Linked DNA regions of Homo sapiens: region 2 is linked to region 1. Evidence: promoter capture Hi-C in human tissues and cell types (Jung and others, 2019). All regions are on one chromosome and are shown on one strand. The core of a region is centred on a gene start or on the middle of the fragment in contact, and the rest is flanking DNA. Distances in the headings are between cores, read along the strand shown. Region 1 holds the start of DCAF10 (DDB1 and CUL4 associated factor 10). Region 2 overlaps FRMPD1 (FERM and PDZ domain containing 1).

Region 1 (4,757 bases), core at 1,297-3,796:
GGACTACAGGCGCCCGCCACCGCGCCCGGCTAATTTTTTGTATTTTTAGTAGAGACGGGGTTTCACCTTGTTAGCCAGGATGGTCTCGATCTCCTGACCTCATGATCCACCCGCCTCGGCCTCCCAAAGTGCCAATTCTTTTTTTTAATTTTTGAGATGGGGTCTCACTCTGTTGCTCAGGCTGAAGTGCAACAGGCTGAAGTGCAGGGTGATCACAGCTCACTGTAACCTTGAACTCCTGGGCTCAAGGGATCCTCCTGGCTCAGCCTTCCGAGCAGCTAGGACTACAAGCATGCATCACCACACCGGAATGATTTTGTTATTTTTCATAGAGAGACAGAGTTTCATGATGTTGCCCAGGCTGGTCTCAAACTCCTTACCCTCAAAAGATCTTCCTGCTGCTTGAGCTTGGGAGGTTGAGGCTGCAGTGAGCCATGACTGTATTACTGTACTCCATCCTGGTCAACAGAGTGAGACCCTGAAAAAAAAAAAAAAGATCCTCCTACCTTGGCCTCCCAAAGCACTGAGATTACAGGTGTGAGCCACTGTGTCTGGCCCTTGATTCTTTTTGTCAGTGCATAAGTCCTGGTTCAGGTATTGTGAAATCAAGTGATCATCCCACAGGAAACTGAAACTGAAATTGAGCAGCCATCATTCTGGTACCTCAAGGGACTCTGCAGGAAGACCCTAGGGGGACTCTGCCAAGAACAAGTCTAACCTGTTCTGAGTCTGTCTCTTTTTATGTATCTGTATCTCCTCCTACCATCAACTTTCTTTCTCACCGTCTATCCCAAGTCTGTTCTCTCATGGCTGCTGCTTTCTCATGATTTCTCTTACTCCTTTGGTTTGCTCAGGACTCCAGCGGCCTCACTCTGCCTTATGACTTTTCAATCCCAACCATCATGGCCAACTGCCTCACTTCTGATTTCCCAATTCAAATTCCCAAGAGCATGAGTCTGTATGGGCAAAGACTTTTGGTCTGGCAGCCTCATGGACCAGTGGCTAATCTATAGCCTGGTTACTCAAATAGTTGTCCTACCCCGGCTAGTAGGCAAGGAAAGCTAAGTAACAGCTACAAAATTCGACAGCCTAGGACTTCTAGGATGGGTTCAGTAGAATATACGTGCTGGCATACACATGAAGAGTGTGAATGCCAGGCAAGTAGGCTGCTACAGTAGATTGGACCCATCCAGGGGGTCTCCAGAGAAGTAGAACCAATAGGAGATATAGATATAAGAGAACATTTAATATGGGAATTGGTTCATATCATTGTAGAGGAGTCCCATGATCTGCAGTCTGCAAGCTGGAGAACCAGGAAATCTGGTGGTGTAATTCAGTCTGAGTCTGAAGGTGTGAGAATCAGAGGAGCTAATGGTATAACTCCCGGTCCAAGACTGAAGGCCTGAAAACTGACGATGAGTCCCCAAGTCCAAAGCCCGCAGAACCGAGTTTTGATGTCTAAGGGCAGGAGATGGATGTACCAACTTAAGAGAAAGTTAAATCACCCTTCTGCCTTTTTGTTCCTTTTCAGTCTTTAATGAATAGGATGATGCCTGTCCACAATGGTGAGGGCAGATCTTCTATTGATTCAAATGCTAATCTGTCCTGGAAACACCCTCACAGGCACACACAGAAATAATGGTTTTCCAGGCTATCTGGGCATCTGTTAGCCCAGTCAAGTTGACCCAGAAAAGTAACTATCACCTATTTGCCATCTTTCATTTAAGCCCAGATACACAGACTGGCTATCTCAGCCATTCCTTGGGTAGCACATCCAAACCTGTTTCCTCTCAGTCTCTCCTTTGCCTTGTGACAAATAGGTTTTGGAAGAAGCTGCCTGTGGTCACCCTGAACTTGTTGTGCCTTTAAGAGTTGGGCATGCTGGCCAGGCGCGGTGGCTCATGCCTGTAATCCCAGCACTTCGGGAGGCCGAGGCGGGTGGATCACGAGGTTCAAGACCAGCCAGGCCAAGATGGTGAAACCCTATCTCTACTAAAAAATACAAAAAATTAGCCGGGCGTGGTGGTGGGCGCCTGTAATCCCAGCTGCTCGGGAGGCTGGGGCAGAGAATTGCTTGAACCCGGGAGACGGAGGTTGCAGTGAGCCGAGATCGCGCCACTGCACTCCAGCCTGGGCGACAGCGCGAGACTCCATCTCGGAAAAAAAAAAAAAAAAAAAGAGTGGCATGTCACCTATTGTGTGTGGCCTGCACGTAATGCACTAATTCTTAATCCCTCGCTGATCCCAGTGTAAAGTGGAGACACCAGTACATACTCAGCCTCACAGGACTGACTGGTCAGGCCACTCATCCCCAGGCACGCGGCCACCGGTCACTGACAACTACAGACCGACTCTGCCACCCAGATCAGGTGCCCAGATGCTCAGTCGCTCACACAGGTAACTACTCGCTCCCTACCTCCGTTCCCGGGACTGCGGCGCCCCAAACCCGGCGGTGTCTCAGCTTTCCCGGTCCCCGGCGGACGGTGGCCGAGGGGCGGCGCGGGTTTCCAGCCGGTGGGGTTAGGCCGCTGCACGCCGGAAGTGGCAGCTGAACAGGGGCACTGAGGTGTCGGCCGGCGGGGCAGTGGCCCGGAGCGGGGGGCGGGGGCGTTGATCATGTTTCCCTTTGGGCCCCATAGCCCTGGAGGGGACGGATCGGCCGGAGCCGGGGCTGAGGAGCCGACGCCCCACGAGGGGCAGGCAGCAGCCACCGGGCCGCCCTCGCCACTACATCCCGGGGCTGATGCGACCCATCCCCCTCCACCCGCCCGAAGCCCTCGCCGCCCCGGCGCCCCATCGCTGTCCCCGGCCCCGCGCTCCGGAGAGCTAGGGCTGCCTGGAGCTCCGGAGTCCTCAACTGCCTCCGCCCCGGGAGAGCCGTCACCTCCCTCCCCTCCGTGCCGGCGGCCCGGGCCAGACTGCAGGGCCAAGAGCCGGGGCCGACACGGCCTCGGCGCGGGCCTGGGCGGCCCTGGCGCTAGGCTGTTCGGGTGGCTGAAAGAGCGCAGCCTGGGCCGCGGGCTGTTCGTGGACCCGGCGCGGGACAATTTTCGCACCATGACTAGCCTCTACGGTTCCATCCACCCCGCGGACTCGGTGTACCTCAGCACCCGCACCCACGGCGCCGTCTTCAACCTCGAGTACTCGCCCGACGGGTAAGCGCGGCCCCTCGGAGGGCGGGCGCCCGCCTCCGCCCGGCTCTGCTGCCAGCGGACGGCCGTCCTGGGCTCGCTCCCCGCGCCCGGGCCGAGGTTAGCGAGGCCGTTTGGGGCCGCTGGCCTTCGTGCCTCCTGGCACTTTCTGAAGCGCATTCTCGCCCTTGGAATCCCCAGCCCAGCTTTTTGAGGCAGGCAGGCGGGGCCCCACTTGCTCGCCTTCAGGACTTGGGCTCTGTGAAGGAGAAATGCCCGAAGCTACACAGCGGACCTGTCAGAGCCAGCCCACAACTAGGGCTTTCTGGTACACAGTAGGTGCTCAGTAAATACATTTTGAATAAATGCCCGCTTTCTCCCCATCATCCTAGGCTCGCGTTTTCCTACCTAAACCTGTGTCGGGGTAGGAAAGCTGTAGATTCCTTGCACTCTGTACCTGAACTTGCCATGATGGGGCAAGTGCGTTCCTTTGCTCAAGGAAGATACAGTACTAAGACACTGTAGAGACGTGGCTCTCATGATTTGGGTCATTTGTGAAGTCCCCAGGCTAGACTACAGCCTTTTTCTTGGCTGATTAAATATTTATTGTATGGCTTTGCTTTAAAGGGAACTTTCCAAAATCGTATCTATTTAAAACTTTGTCTTGTCAGTACACAAGTCCGCCATCAAAAGAAAAAATGTGCACAGTTCCACCATGAGGTGACATAGTTAATGTAATTCTTACCCCACCAAGCCTCTCGGTTGCTAGTTGTTTACTCAGTTGTTCATTCATTCATTCTCTCATTCGGCGTATATTTGTTGAGCACTTGCTATGTTCCAAATGCAGGAGTAACCATGCTGAGCAAAACCAGCTAATGGCACTGTTTTCATTGAGCCTGGGACTTAATGGTTCAACTAGATAGTAGATAGCCTTACTAAATAATGCATAAAATATATTTGTTAATTGAGATAAAGTCTTGAAGGAATCTGTTATGGACACTGTGTTCACGGATTCCCTGAGGAAGTGGCACCTAAATGAAAATAAAAATGAGTACGAAATAAATTAGTCAAGATAGGGTTGGGAAAGGGATAGAAGTATTTCAGATGGAGATGATTGGTATGTCAAAGGTCGTAGAAGGGCAGCATATCATGTTACAGGAGGTGAAAAAAAATAGGTTTACAAAGCAAAAAATTTTACTGAAGAAAGACCTGAAGTTGCTAAGGAAGGAGCAAAGGAATAGAAACAGGAGTTACTGTGAGCAAGTAGACTCTATTCCATTTCAATGATGGAAGCGCTTCCTAATCACACGTGGTGCTGGGGTCTCTGGGGTCTCAACAGCAATTGGTTGGAGCATGTAGCAGTGGATGCACACCTGAATAAGGTGGAAAACTGGTGAGAGGAGAAACTATTTTGCTGAAACTTATTCATGGAACCTCGCAGCCTCCTTCCTTCAGCCAAGCCCTATTCCTAAAGTTTCCCTCAAAACACGAACAGTCTGTCCTCAAATATTCAGTTTCTCTCTTCATATCCCGGCCCCTCTCCTCCCAACCTCCTACCGATACTTTCAGGAATTCAGAAGCAGCTATTTCTACTTTTTGGATGTGGGATTTTAGGTGGGAGTATAA
Region 2 (4,757 bases), core at 1,217-3,716, 88 kb before region 1:
GCAGTTGAAGGCTTCTGAGCAGGGATGCATGACTTGAGGTGTGCTGTGCATCTGTACCCTCTGCTGTCTTTTGCATGTGAGAATCCCAGGACGCCTTACTTTTTTTAAGCTTAGTTCCCAGTGTCTAAAACCAGCATGTATTATTCAGTGTCACGTGTAAAAGGTAAAACACAAAGCAAAACAAAAAGATACAACAACAATGCCAAGAAAACATCTCAAATTCCTCCAAATAGCTATGAGGCCAGTATGTCCTTTTAGAGCACTTGCATTTGGGTTTATTGTGATTTATCTCAGAAAAGGCCTGTTCTCATTTAAAATGGAAAAGAGGAAGTCCCTAGACACTTAGACATCTTGGGTTGAGTTTATCCTTTTGAGGAAATAACACACCAGCAGCAATTGGCCTAAATGTTCATATTGCAAGAAGTCAAATGAAATTATTTTGCCAACTGCTTCTCCATGGTAGCAGTGGCAAAGAGAAAGGAAAATATGATCGATTTTCTCTGTTCTGGCCGCTAATATAAAGTAGAGGTCAAGCAGTTATCTGCTTGATTTGATCACTTTTGAAATCTAAGAGATAATGCAAGACAAAGATGTCTACTATCTTGATTATATGATTGGGCTCATTACACCGACTTTGTGTGCCCAAACACCATAAACTCTTTGGCTTTTATCTGATAAACGTTATCCACAGACATTCATTCTGTTTAGTGAAATGTTTAGCCTGAGTTTTATGAAATAGCAACCTGAGTTATCTGTGTTATTGCCATATTTTCTCCTAAAAAATTTTTTTGGGTTGGGCACGGTGGCTCACACCTGTAATCCCAGCACTTTGGGAGGCCGAGGTGGGCAGATCACCAGGTCAGGAGTTTGAGACCAGCCTGACCAACATGGTGAAATCCCATCTCTACTAAAAAATTAGCTGGGTGTGGTGGCGGGTGCCTGTAGTCCCAGCTACTCGGGAGGCTGAGGCAGGAGAATTCTTTGAACCCGGGAGGCGGAGGTTGCAGCAAGCCAAGATTGCGCCATTGCATTCCAGCCTGGGCAACAGGGCAAGACTCTGTCTCACAAAAAAAAAAAAAAAAAAAAATTGGGGGACATAAATCTAGCTGGTTGTCACTGGATGAGTTCTTCATTGTATAGGACTAAATTAAGGCTAAGTGCCTTAATTAATGTTGTGGCTGTAGATATAGACTAGATGGTAGAGGTGAACTTACGAAAATTCCCTCCAGGTGGGAGGAGCTCTCTGGGTCAGCTTAAGTTCCTTTGCAGGTTGCTGCATTTCCCAATATCTTTCTCAGTTTTGCTGAGCCAAAAAAGCTAAGGCAAAGGAGGCTGCTTTATACTCATTCTGCCAGTCTTTTTGACCCTAACACACATGCTCACACATGTATGCATGCACGTGCATCCATCACGCAGAACGACTAAATGTTTTTGTCTTTATTCTTTCTTTTTTCAGGGAAGCAGAAGATTCTCTTTCAATCACAGTTGTTCGCTGCACGTCGGTAAATCTCTTTCTATGTCCTGTGTGTTAGTTTCACCATTCTTGGCCCTAAGACCCTGTTCCCCCAGAGGATATCCCTCATAAAGTAAGCGGGGAAGGCAAAGGGTGGAGGGTGACAGCTGCCCGGCAGTGGGTGGCCAGTCAGTCCATGTTATCTGAAGACCTCCTCCATGCAAGTACTGTGGAGGAAACAGATATGGTGAAGGCCTCAAGAATTTATGGTCCAGCTGAGGAGATGGACCTATGGCTATGCACAGTAGGATGATGGTAAGGGCACCAAACTGGAGTTTCAAGACAGGTTTGAGTGGTATGACTTTGGGAAAATCATTTAGTTTCAGTTTTCACTTTTGTAAAATAGTCATGACAATAACTGCCTTGTCTGTTTAATGGGTTGTTAGAAGGACCAAATGAGATGTTGGATATGAAAGTATTTTATCAGCTCTGAGGCTCACCACACGGCAAGGTGTGGCATAGATGATGCACAGGGAGGAAGCGGCAATCCTAAACCACCACAGGCCGAGGAGCTCCTTATGTATTATTTAGGGAAAGTATATAATCAAATTTTCAAAGGAAAAACTACTAAGGAGATAGTTTTTCAAAAGTTGATAGAAAATTTTCATTGTGAGAAATTTTAATAGTACTTCTTAGCCTTGGCCACAAATAGACCAAAATAAAAAAGAGGGGCATAGAGAATTTGAATAATGTACTTAATAATCTAATTTAATTGACCACATACCAGGCTACCAAGAAAACTCAATAAATTCCCCAAATGAAAAACTGTGCAGGTCCCTTTTTCCGAATATAATAAAATAGAAGCTAATAACTATTAAAAATTCAATTAAAAACCATTCAGCCATTTGGAAATAAAAATGTAATTTCCTAAGTAAAGATTGAGTCAAATAGAAAAAGAAAAACTATCATTATAGACTATTTAGAAAATAATTGAAAATTAAAACTGTACTTCTTTTATTTTTTCTTGAGATGGAGTCTCACTCCCGTCGTGCAGACTGGAGTGCAATGGCGTGATCTCAGTTCACTGCAACCGCCACCTCCTGGGTTCAAGTGATTCTCCTGCCTCAACTTCCCAAGTAGCTGGGATTACAAGCACCCACCACCATGCTGAGCTAATTTTTGTATTTTTAGTAGAGACAGGGTTTCGCCACATTGGCCAGGCTGGTCTTGAACTCCTGACCTCAGGTGATCCACCTGCCTCGGCTTCCCAAAGTGCTGGGATTACAGGCGTCATCCACCATGCCAGGCCAGAACTGTACTTCTTAAAAGTAATTATGTGCAGTTGAAGCTACACTCAGAGTAAAATTCATGGCCTTGAGTGTTTTTATCATTTAATACAGAAGTAAATCAATTAAATATTCAGTGCAAGAAGTTAGAAGAAAAGATTAATAAAACAAACATAAAGCAGAATAAAGTAATAAAAATTAAAATATAAATGATCCTCTGGAAAACAGAAAGATTGTAATGTTGTTAAGTCCAAAAGCTATTTCTTTAAAGACAAAAGTTATATAAAATACAAAAACCTTAAGGGAAAGAGATATGGGAGTCTCATGTGGAGGAAACTAGACTATTACTGACATATATAAAAAAATAACATAAAAGGAGATACATACTATGTTCCTTGATGGGGAGACTAAGTATTATTAATATATCAGTTATTATATTAATATATATACTTAATACAAATTCAAGCAAACTCTTACGGGACTTTCATTTGGATTTAACAAAGTATATCAAAGTGAGACTTATCTCAAGAAAACCTTTTTTAAAAAGGATAATGAGGATGGCCTTGATAGGCAGGTTTAAAAACGAACAAAGCTACAATTATTAAAACAGTATGATATTGGTGAAATGTTGAACATGTCAATGTAATCAGATAAAAAGTTCAAGAGTAGATGCTAGTATAGGAACATAGTATGTGAGGCTGGGTGCAGTGGCTCATGCCTGTAATCCCAGCATTTTGGGAGGCTGAGGGTGGCGGATAGCTTGAGCTGAGGAGTTCAAGACCAGCCTGGGCAACATGGCAAAATCCCATCTCTACAAACACAAAAACAAAAACAAAATGATTATAGCTGGCAGGGGCTTAGGTGAGAGAATCGCTTGAGCCCAGGAAGTCGAGGCTGCAGTGAGCTGAGATCGCACCACTGCACTCCAGCCTGGGTGACAAGGTGAGACCGTATATATATATATATGTAGAGAGAGAGAGAGAGACCATATATATAGAGAGACCTATATATATATGACCATTTATATATAACTATATATAGTGTGTGTGTGTATATATATGTATATAGTTTGTGAAAAACATAGCATTCCAAATCTGTGGGAGAAAAGGCAATTATTCAAGAAATCAAACTTGGACATTTGTTTAAGTATTTGGAAAAAATACAGTCTCAACTCTAAAAATACAAACAATATGGATGGATGTCTGTCTGGTCATAGGCTGTAGAAAGGTTGCCTACGCATTTAGGGCGTGGAAGGAAGCACAGTGGAACAAAGGTGATTTGATTACATGAAAATATAAACCTTCTGTGGTCCAAACACTTCATAAACTAGAAAGCAGAGAAAGTGTTGTCTCCTCTCTGTATTTGACAAATGTTATCTTTTGTTTTTATTTCTTGGAAATAGAGTAGGAAAAAACCTACCTAATGAGGATGAAGATGTTTGCCATAAATATGTCAGACCAAGTATTTTAGGTATCGATAAATGGAAGTTCTTCTATTCTTAACAGAATTTGTCTATTAAATAATGTGAAACCAATATGGAAACAGGGAAATCTAATCAGTATAAATGGTAGTGAAGGTGTTAGGTCCTTTTTGTTTAGCTGGTTATCATCTCATTGGAGAGTATCTTAATCTTAATCAGGCAGGTTTTTTCCTGATCTGTTTCCAAGAAATGAGCAAAAGAAAATACTTAATGTAGGGAGCAAGGGCAACAGCATAGAGCTGAATCCTTTAAATAATAAAAAGTATGGGAAGGTAAAAATTGGTATGTGTCCAGTACCACTCCTGAGATTCCTACAAGATTTCCAGGAAGAGAGGAACGTGCTCTGGAGGTCTCTCAGGGAGAACTGGCATTAGCCCAGTCTGTGGCCACCAGTGCCTCTGAGAAATGCCCTAAATATTGGCTAGCCTGCTCCTGGGCCTCTCACCAGAACTGCTCCGAAGAAGTTTATTTTATTTTATTTTATTTTATTTTATTTTATTTTATTTTATTTTGTTTTGTTTTATTTTATTTTATCTTA

The links. Contacts are between HindIII fragments. The study calls those that stand out against the background at their distance.
Region 2: a contact is called between a fragment that was not itself captured here and the fragment with the promoter of DCAF10 in region 1, in 2 of the 25 tissues and cell types used here (bladder and pancreas).

What each region holds. Positions count from the first base shown.
Region 1 is chr9:37,798,251-37,803,007 of GRCh38, forward strand. It overlaps DCAF10 (DDB1 and CUL4 associated factor 10), which reads left to right and starts at 2,547. Exons shown (of 7, transcript NM_024345.5): 1 at 2,547-3,155. The coding sequence starts at 2,617. LOC105376037 (a long non-coding RNA gene) reads right to left here and starts at 2,641. Exons shown (of 3, transcript XR_929599.3): 1 at 2,417-2,641; 2 at 381-478. RefSeq lists enhancers at 2,076-2,677, 3,629-3,678 and silencers at 2,519-3,038, 3,259-3,318. The HindIII fragment of the contact is 16,578 bases long and covers 1-4,757 here.
Region 2 is chr9:37,709,894-37,714,650 of GRCh38, forward strand. It overlaps FRMPD1 (FERM and PDZ domain containing 1), which reads left to right. Exons shown (of 16, transcript NM_014907.3): 5 at 1,457-1,502. Among named protein-coding and RNA genes, the nearest start is that of TRMT10B, 42 kb to the right of the region's middle. The HindIII fragment of the contact is 9,572 bases long and covers 1-4,757 here.